2 separate regions of the Homo sapiens genome follow, and region 2 is linked to region 1. The links are contacts of gene promoters, found by promoter capture Hi-C in human tissues and cell types (Jung and others, 2019). All regions are on one chromosome and are shown on one strand. The core of a region is centred on a gene start or on the middle of the fragment in contact, and the rest is flanking DNA. Distances in the headings are between cores, read along the strand shown.

What was found. Contacts are between HindIII fragments. The study calls those that stand out against the background at their distance.
Region 2: a fragment that was not itself captured here is called in contact with the fragment with the promoter of KLHDC7A in region 1 in 1 of the 25 tissues and cell types used here (dorsolateral prefrontal cortex).

What each region holds. Positions count from the first base shown.
Region 1 is chr1:18,478,571-18,483,782 of GRCh38, forward strand. KLHDC7A (kelch domain containing 7A) reads left to right here and starts at 2,360. Exons shown (of 1, transcript NM_152375.3): 1 at 2,360-5,212. The coding sequence starts at 2,412. The coding sequence ends at 4,745. RefSeq lists enhancers at 1,438-2,310, 2,311-3,182. The HindIII fragment of the contact is 16,937 bases long and covers 1-5,212 here.
Region 2 is chr1:17,958,333-17,963,544 of GRCh38, forward strand. No RefSeq gene overlaps it. Among named protein-coding and RNA genes, the nearest start is that of LINC01654, 100 kb to the right of the region's middle. The HindIII fragment of the contact is 3,977 bases long and covers 332-4,308 here.

The DNA.
Region 1 (5,212 bases), core at 1,110-3,609:
GGAGGGAGGGAAGGGAAGGGAGGGAGGGAGGGAGGAAAGAAGGGAGGGAGGAAAGAAGGGAGGGAGGGAGGAAGGAAGGAAGGAAGGAAGGAAGGAAGGAAGGCAGGCAGGCAGGCAGGCAGGCAGGCAGGCAGGCAGGCAGGCAGGCAGGCAAGCTGCATCTCTAACAAGCACCCCTTGTGATCCTTGTGCACATTGCATTGATAGGCACTCTTTTGACCAGGATGGAAAGAAAGAGAATTCAGGGGACCCCTCTTGACAGCTACCAGTGGGACAGGCTGAGGACACCTGACTTTCTAAGAGGTCACACCTGCTGGATGAAGTCAGGTCTGTAAAACTCTGGACTCTGCAAACAAGGTTTTGAGTCCCCATTTACAAGCCAGTTGACATAATCTTGGAGGTCCAGTTACCGCTGCTGTCAAATGGGGATAACAATCGTGTCTCTCCCCAAAGGGGCTGTGAGCATGAGACGAGATGAGATGAGCTTCATCCCGAGTGTTCACCCCAATCCACTCAGTGTAAAGACAATCCCTGCTGGCTATTGTCCCAAATGGTGCAGGGCCCCACATAGGCTTAGGGTCCACAGCTGAGCCAGCTACAGCCTCTGTCCTCAAGGACTTAGAATGCAGCAGACCAGATCTTGCACACAATGCACTTTACGATGCAGCAGCTGTGGCCAAGCCTAAAAGAGGAGCATCAGAGAACACGAGACCCAAAGGAAGAAAAGGTGATCTTGGACGGATGAAGGCACCAGGGAAGAAGGCCCAGACACAGCCTTTTACCCAACTCTGATGGGCCAGAGGGATGTCCACCAGCCTTCCCTGCCAAGAAGTCACCCTGAGCCCGGTTTGCTAGGCAGTGATCAGGAGATGCATCTGGAAGAGTAAACCGAAGCTGGTACACAGAGAGTTGTGAACGTCGGCATAGGGAGTCAGGATTGTCTCCTAGAGTCAAAGCCTTCAGAGCCAAATTCCTCCCATGCGTGTGCTTCCTGTGGCCCACAGTGTTTTTCAGTTTCATTTTTGAATCAGATGCCAACATTTTAAAATTGAGAGTGATTATGTCACTACTGGGATTCTAAGCTTTTTGCGACAGTGGGAGGATGAGGCAATGCTGGGCCTGATACCATCGGCTGGGGTGGGGCGGACAGACGTCCTTACTTGTTCACTTTACCTACCCAGCCTCCATATGCAGCAAGAGTTTGAGACCCCTGCACAGGACTTTGGGGACTCTTTGAGGACCTTGGTCAGGAGAAGGGTAGAATTAGTTCTGTGCTTTGGAAGGTCCTCTGATGACAATTGATACTAGCGATGATGGTGCCGATGATCAGAAAGAGGAAAAGGAGGAAGAAGCAGAGAATAGTTCATATTTACTAAGCTTTCATGATGGGGGCTCTGCCCCAGTGTTTATTCCTAGTAGCCCATTTAGTTCTCCCCACAAGCTGATGAGGTGCGTATGCTGTCATCCTCCTTTTTCAGACAAAGCACAGAGCGGTGAGGTCTCTTGCCTAAGGTCATATAGTTGGTAAGTAGCAGAGCCAGGTAGTCTGGGTCCAGGACCCACAGCACTGGTGATGGGGGAGGGGAAATGGTGAGGGGGGGTCTGGGAGACGTGAGTCTTCCCTCAATCTTTCACCGTAGGAGATTGTCTGGTTTTAAAAGAGAAGATGTGTCCACATCTAACCCCGATCTGAGCACTAATGCAATGTCTTTCTCCACTGTTCTCAGAAAGGCTGGTTTTTCTTAATAAACTTGTCAGGCAGGGAAGGAGGGCAGAGGCACTCAAGGGCCGGCTCAGGTGGCTTGGCTGCATGCCCTGGCTCCAGACTCCACTGCCATGTTCCCGTTCCCTGCTTGGCCAGCATAAAGTTGACCCCACTGTGAGGACCAGCAGACCTCACAAGAATGACCCCATCCACGCCTACTGGGGCTCCACCTGCCCATGACTCACCACACCCAAGCCTCTGAGCCCAGTGGACTTGCAAAAGAGAAAATAAAGCACACACATAAAGAATAACCAACCCCATGCATTTCCTGGCATCGGGTGACTGTTTGGTTAAGAGCTTCCTCCTCTTTTGTATGCCCACTGGATACTCCTAACATCCCCTAGCTGCTGACCACAGAGCTGGCTTAGGTGGCTGATCACAAGCTCAGCCCCTGGGCGGGCCCCCCACCCCAGCCACCAGGGAAGCATGGAAGGAGGCCAGCCGCTGGGATCTGCCAGCTCTGGGCCCCAGCGGCCACCCTCTGCAGCTCAAAGTCACCTTTGCTCCTCTCCTCTCCTCGGCTGGCCAGCCAGAACCAGCCCAGAACTCCCTCCCCTCCGCTCAGCAGGACCCAGGAACTGGTCCCTACTGGGCAATTATTAATCAGATTCTTGACATTCCTCAGCCCCAGGTTGGCTGGAGAAGCATGTTCCCCAGAGGAGCAGAGGCCCAGGACTGGCATTTGGATATGCAGCTGACCGGCAAGGTGGTGCTGTCAGCCGCTGCCCTGCTCCTGGTGACTGTGGCCTACAGGCTGTACAAGTCGAGGCCTGCCCCAGCCCAGCGGTGGGGTGGGAATGGCCAGGCAGAAGCCAAGGAGGAAGCAGAGGGCTCAGGGCAGCCTGCTGTACAGGAGGCTTCTCCTGGGGTGCTCCTGAGGGGGCCAAGACGTCGGAGGAGCAGCAAGCGGGCTGAAGCACCACAGGGCTGCAGCTGTGAGAATCCAAGAGGCCCCTATGTCCTGGTCACGGGGGCCACTTCCACAGACAGGAAGCCCCAGAGAAAAGGCTCAGGTGAGGAGCGGGGCGGGCAGGGCTCGGACTCTGAGCAGGTGCCTCCTTGCTGCCCCAGCCAGGAAACCAGAACAGCTGTTGGCAGTAACCCTGACCCTCCCCATTTCCCCCGCTTGGGCAGCGAACCGAAGAGCTCCCCAGCTGGACTCATTGCAGCAGCCGACGGCAGCTGTGCCGGTGGTGAGCCTTCTCCATGGCAGGACAGTAAACCCCGTGAGCATCCAGGACTGGGGCAACTAGAACCTCCCCACTGTCACTACGTGGCTCCCTTGCAAGGCAGCAGTGACATGAACCAGAGCTGGGTCTTCACCCGTGTGATAGGGGTCAGCAGAGAAGAGGCTGGGGCTCTCGAGGCTGCCTCCGATGTTGACCTGACCCTGCATCAGCAGGAGGGCGCCCCCAACTCCTCCTATACCTTCTCATCCATAGCCCGCGTCCGAATGGAGGAGCATTTCATACAGAAGGCGGAGGGGGTTGAGCCCCGGCTCAAGGGCAAGGTGTACGACTACTATGTGGAATCTACCTCTCAGGCCATCTTCCAGGGCAGGCTGGCTCCCAGGACAGCAGCCCTGACTGAGGTTCCATCCCCTAGGCCACCGCCAGGGTCCCTGGGAACAGGGGCTGCCTCGGGAGGCCAAGCCGGTGACACAAAGGGTGCAGCCGAAAGAGCCGCCTCCCCGCAGACAGGGCCGTGGCCCTCCACCCGAGGCTTCAGCCGGAAGGAGAGCCTTCTGCAGATAGCGGAGAACCCAGAGCTGCAGCTGCAGCCAGATGGCTTCCGGCTCCCCGCTCCACCCTGCCCAGACCCGGGCGCCCTGCCTGGCTTAGGCAGAAGCAGCCGGGAGCCCCATGTGCAGCCGGTGGCCGGGACCAATTTCTTCCATATCCCGCTCACCCCTGCTTCAGCCCCACAGGTCCGCCTGGATCTGGGCAATTGCTATGAGGTGCTGACCTTGGCCAAGAGGCAGAACCTGGAGGCCCTGAAAGAGGCGGCCTACAAGGTGATGAGCGAAAACTACCTGCAGGTGCTGCGCAGCCCGGACATCTACGGGTGCCTGAGCGGGGCAGAGCGCGAGCTGATCCTGCAGCGCCGGCTCCGGGGCCGCCAGTACCTGGTGGTGGCTGACGTGTGCCCCAAGGAAGACTCCGGCGGCCTCTGTTGCTATGACGATGAGCAGGATGTCTGGCGCCCGCTGGCTCGCATGCCCCCCGAGGCCGTGTCCCGGGGCTGTGCCATCTGCAGTCTCTTCAATTATCTCTTCGTGGTGTCCGGCTGCCAGGGGCCCGGGCACCAGCCCTCCAGCCGCGTCTTCTGCTACAACCCGCTCACGGGGATCTGGAGCGAGGTGTGCCCGCTGAACCAGGCCCGGCCGCACTGCCGGCTGGTGGCCCTGGACGGGCACCTGTATGCCATCGGCGGAGAGTGTCTGAACTCGGTGGAGCGTTACGACCCCCGCCTGGACCGCTGGGACTTTGCCCCGCCGCTCCCCAGTGACACGTTCGCCCTGGCGCACACGGCCACGGTGCGTGCCAAGGAAATCTTCGTCACCGGCGGCTCGCTGCGCTTCCTGCTGTTCCGCTTCTCTGCGCAGGAGCAGCGCTGGTGGGCCGGCCCCACCGGGGGCAGCAAGGACCGCACGGCCGAGATGGTGGCGGTCAACGGCTTTCTCTACCGCTTTGACCTCAACCGCAGCCTGGGCATCGCCGTGTACCGCTGCAGCGCCAGCACCCGGCTCTGGTACGAGTGCGCCACGTACCGGACGCCTTACCCGGATGCCTTCCAGTGCGCCGTGGTGGACAACCTCATCTACTGCGTGGGACGCCGGAGCACCCTCTGCTTCCTAGCAGACTCTGTCTCACCCAGGTTTGTGCCCAAGGAGCTGCGGAGTTTCCCGGCCCCGCAGGGCACCCTCCTGCCCACCGTCCTGACCTTGCCCACCCCCGATTTGCCTCAGACCAGGGTCTAGCAGTCCCTCAACTGAGCTCCTCATGCAAAGCTGGGGGCCACCGGGCTCCACTGCCAGCCGTCCCTCTGGGGGCCATTTCTAGGCAAACAGGCAACCCAGGAATGTGGCCATCAAGAGGTGAATTCCGGTCCTTTCTCCTCCCCTAGCTGGGGAGAGAGGGATCTTAGATGAGTCTTACCCTTCATGGGCTGCAGAGGCCCCACTGCAGAAAAGAGGACCAGGAGCTGGTGTTCCAAGGCAGAAGGCATTCATGTCTTCAGGGATGACCGCCCTTGCTTCAACTCTGAATTCTTGGGGGGATACACCGGGACCCCACCAAAGCTTAGGGGGCATAGTCTTTTTGCAATCACAATTCTAGGAGCCAGTTGACCCCAGCAGCCCCTCGCTAGTTGCTCTGGAGAGGGGTTGGCTCTCTGAGCCATCAGTGCCCCTTCCTAAACATCAGCCACTGGGCCCCACCTCCACAG
Region 2 (5,212 bases), core at 1,070-3,569, 520 kb before region 1:
CGCCTCCCAGTTGCTTAAGCACTGACCTAGTTCACTCGCCATTCTTCTATTCTTTCCTTCAATAATTTGGGAAATATTTACTGAGACCCTGCTGTGCGTCCTACTCTGAGATGGCATCTGGACTCTCTGGAGTTTGTGGAATGGTCAGAAGAAGGCTATAGCCTGTATTCAGCTGGACCTGGATTCAAGTCCTGACTCTTGCACTTAACAAGGTATAAGATTTAGGGGAGCTGCCTCCCTCCTCCAATCTTCCATGCCCTTACTTACAAAACAGGCATATGAGGATCGACCTCCTACAGTGGCTGGGAGGGGCCTGTCTGTTATCTATTCGGCACCTGGCATGGGGTTACATAAGTAACTGTTAAGTTTCTTTTTTCTATACTCTCCAATCCTGCCTTCACCCTCAACTCTGCATATGTTGTGACTTTTGCAAGTATGTTTTCTACTCACTGGATCAGACAGACTCTTAGGGTGCTCTCTTCTCTTCTAACAATCCCCTGATGTGGTTTGGCTCTGTGTCCCCACCCAAACCTCATATTCAATTGTAATCCTCCCTAATGTTGGGGGAGGGGCATGGTGGGAGGTGATTGAGTCATGAGGGCTGACTTCCCCCTTGTTGTTCTTGTGATAGAGTTCTCTTGAGACCTGGTTGTTTGAAAGCATGGAGCACTTCCTCCTTCGCTCTCTCTCTCTCCTGCTTTGCCATCTGAAGAGGGTGCTGGCTTCCCCTTCACCCTTCTGCCATGATTGTAAGTTTCCTGAGGCTTCCCCACCCATGCTTCCTGTACAATCTGAGGAATTGTGAGTCAATTAAACCTCTTTTCTTTGTAAATTACCCAGTCTCAGGTAGTTCTTTGTGGCTGTGTAAGAATGGACTAATACACCCCTCAAAGCAGGATCTGAGTTTTCCTTTGAGACTGGGAGCTCCCTGAGAAAGAGCGCTCCTTCTCCCATCACTCAGCTGATGATCCCAGGAGTACTAAACTGGCTAAGCCCATAGTAAGGAATGGAACAGGAACTGACCAGGATGCTGACTTGTTCTAGCCGCTCTCACTCAAGAGGAAGGAAATTGTACTTCACAAATGTCTTCATATTCCTGTGTAGATCCTCTGGCTTCTCTCATCACCAATATTTTCCCAAGTGTGAAAAGCTCTTTCAGACTCAGCTTGTAGAAACAGGCCTAGGGAGGTGAATGAATTGAGGTGAATGCGTTAAGGTGACCGATCAAAACCAAAGGCATCGACTCCTCGGGCCCCCATTTCTCAGGTGATGGAGGATGGGGGATGATGTGAGTGGAAAACTGCAAAATGCACAAAAAGACAACCATGAGATGATCTTCTGCCTAGTCTCCTTGTCTGTTACATGTCATTCTTTCAACTTAGGCTGGATAATGCAGCCAGATTCATTTTCTATTAGGTTAGTGCACAGAAATAATCACACCATTTATTTTTGTGCAAAGAAATAATAATATGTGCAAAGAAATAATTGCACAATTATTTTTAATGGCAAAAAATGCAATTACTTTTGCACCAACACAATAGAAGTCTTCCTATTATCTGAGGAAGACTCACAGAACATAAAGAGCTAGAAGAAGCCTTTGAGAACACAGAGTTTCCCTCTCTCATGTGATAGATTAAAGAATTGAGGCTCAGGGTAGCTGAGACATTTGGCCATGGCCCAAGATCCAGTGAGGGTCAGAGATGAGACCAAGACCAAAGAATCCTAAACACATCTCTTTCTTTTGTACAGGGCACGGCAGTTTTCAAATTGCTCTGTAGTGCCTTATTAACCTTTATTTCCCTAGTGCCTGGAGCAGAGTCTGGCACAGATATTTACGAATGAAGGCTCTTGATGTTACCAACTTCTCACAATTATGTTAAATAGGCAGAGGTTATGTTCCTGTGAGGCTTTGGGGCTGCTGCTGGTGGTTCGTCTAACATTACCTGTAGAATAAGTGACATTATCGGCAACACTTTTTCCAGATGCCACGCCTTCCTCAGTGTTCTACCATGGCTTCCATTGACTGTTGAACAAGAATGAGACTCCTTGGTGTGGCAATTCAAGGGCTTGGGAATGTGGTCCTCAGGTTTCATCACTTCACACTGGATCAGAAATCTCTGATTTAGCCAGACCTCTTTCCTCATCACCCTACGCCCACGCCTTAAACATTCTCGAGCCTGTGTGACCCACATTCCTTCTGCACACACAGGTCAGCGCAGTGCTGCTAATATGTGAGCCCACAATAAGCATTTGGGGAATGAATGCTCACTCCATGCTCCCCATTTGTGCCCTCTCCTCTTTCCTTTTCTGTTCAGATACTACCCATCCTTCTAGGCCTCAGTCAAATCTCACCTCTTCCTGGAAGCTCTCCATGACCACCCTCATCCCCAGGAGTCTCTCCTTCTGAATTCCTATATCTTGTCCATGGTCATTTGACAATTAATCACCTACTCTGGGGCATTCTTTTGCTGTTTTCCCCTGTCTCCCCAATGTGTCCATAAGCTCCCAGCCAAGAAGACCCTTGTGTGCCTTGACTTCAACCCCCAGCTTGGAATTGAGAAACATCCCAGGCTTGATCAGTATCTGTGGAACAATAACAGTAAGGACTCTGGTACCCAGAAAAAGTGAATCCCTTACAGATGTCCCTCAGCCAGCCAGTAGCAGTGCTTAACTCAAATACCTGTTTTCTGGACCCACAGTCTGCACCCTTTCTACCAGACTGAACCACGCCGGCACCAAGCTTGCATCCTCGCCTATTTACCATTGTTGCCTCCTCACAGTCTCACTCCAGGCTGGGTTTTATCATCTTACAGAGGACCTTCAAGGGGAAAGTCCCTTGCCCGGGAGTCAAAAGGGCAGAGTTCTGATGTTGGCCTTATAGAAAAGGATACCTATCATGAGGATCATAGATGCAGTTGCCTGTGTAAGGGAATATTTGGTGGCTGCTTCTGTAGAACCGGCTCATGGTGACACCAGGTGAATCTCCTTCCCTGTCCAGATCTCAGCCTCCTCATCTGTAAAATGTGAATGACTGATCTCTTCTGTCCTACGTATTCCCTCCTAAGAGAAGATAATGAGATAAGGAAGCAGCGGACACCCTGAAGGATGCAACTCCTGCAACTTCTCTAAAACTGTTCTTGCCTCCAGACTGGCTTCTCTCCAATCTGTTCCCTGCTCAGGAGCTAAAGGGACCTTCCTATGGTGCTGATGTGTCCAGATCACCTCCTGGCCTCAAACTCTTCCATTCTTCCCACTGCCCTCAGTTGAGATCCAGGCTCCTTGCTGTGGCTTGCAAACCCTCCATGGGTTCCCTGCCAGTCTCTCCAGTCTCAGTTCCCCCTCAGTGCCCTTTGCTCTCAGGCACCACCCACAATGGATTTCTCCATGCTTCTCTTTCCCATTGAGCTCACCCAAATCTTTGAGGAGCTTGACTATGATCTTCCCCACCTTACACAAGTGGGTTCATGCCACCCCCTCCAGGTAGACTTCCATGATCACCAAGATGAGGTTGGCCCTGTGCTCTCTGGCCCCCACAGAGAGCTGCTCTCACACTGCTTCTCCCATTTATAGGTGGAGCCGATTCCTCGCCCTTTGAATATGGGCTGGCCCTGGTCACTTGCTCAACCAGTGGAATGCTGTGGCAGTGATGCCCTGGGACCTCCGTGGCCAGGTCATAAGAAGCTTTACAACATCTGTCTGGGTTTCTGAGAATGCTTACACAGGGGAAGCCAGCTGCCATGTAACGAGTCTCACTGCCCCAAGTCCGCCATGCTAGGAAGAAGGTCATTTTGGCCAGGTTGGGAGAAAGAGAGAGAGACACCTGGCTAGCATCAGCTGATCTGGCCATCCCAGCGGCGGTGTTATACATGCGAGTAAAGAAACATATTGAACTCCCAGTTAACCTGTAGAACTGTGGGAGATCATCATAAATTTATATTTTAATCCACTGAGTTGTGAGGGTGGTTTCTTACATGAGAACACATCCTCAAAACAGGTCCCCTGCTGTGTGCACTCACAGGACCCTGAGCTTCTCCTCTTAAGCATCCATCATGCGTTGTTGTGATTACTCATATTGGCAGAGAGGTTGACTATTCAACCAAGACTCTGCTTCCCTTCCATAGGTAGTGTAGTTGTTGGAAAGCGGTCACCCAGCCAGAGGCTACCTTTTCAAGCCCCCTTTGCAGCTTGGCAGGTTCTGAGTTCACCTTTGCTGAGATTGTGAGCAAAGGTGATGTGCATCACTTCCAGTCCTGGCCTACAAGCATGTCCTATGCAGTTTCTGTACTTCCTGTTTTCCTCTGTCTATCAGTTGGATGTGACTTTGGGAACATACGTTGAAGATGAAGGTGCTTCCATCAGCCTGCGTCCCAGAGAACTCCCTTCCTCACCCACAGATGGACTTTTAGGCAGGAGAGAAATAGACTTTTACTTTAAGCCACTTGAGATTGGAGGGTGGTGGTGGTTCTACTACACATCATCTTAACAATACACGTGTTCATTGCCAATTAATCATGTACTCCGGGACATTCTTTTGCTGTTTTCCTCTGTCTCCTCAATGTGTCCATAAGCTCCCAACCAAGAAGACCCTTGTGTACCTCGACCTCAACCCTTAGCTTGGAATTGGGAAACATCCCCGGCTTGATCAGTATGTGTCGAACAATAACAGTAAGAACTCTGGTACCCAGACAAAGGAAATGCCTTAGCAATGTCTCTCAGCCAGCCAGGACATGAGACACAGTTTAATTCTCTTGTCACCAGCTAGACTGTAAGCACCATGGTGGCAGAGACAGCCTCTGCCTTGTTCTCCAACGTATCGATGCACTAACCCAAAGCCTGGCACAGAGTGGACATTCAGTAAACACCTGGTGAGTGCATGCTCTCTTTATTTACTTTCCTGCCTGGGTTATCTGAATCACACTTCACCTCCAGGCTAAGCTTTGATGGCTCGACTATCATGCCCAGCCAGGTGGCGAAACTGAATGCAAAAATTCCTTGTAGAAAGCTGGGAAATCCAGCTTTCAATTCCTCCCATTTCTTTGGCTTGATTTTAATGACTGATGTTTTTTAGGTCTTTTTTTTTTTAAGGTAGGGGAGGGTTAGGCGGTGGCAGCTTCATTTTAATCAGAAGCTAAAAGGCTCATTGGTTTTTCTGATATCCTTTGAATGGACTCCTTCTCCACAGACAGCTCCTCACAGCTGTTAGGACTTCAAA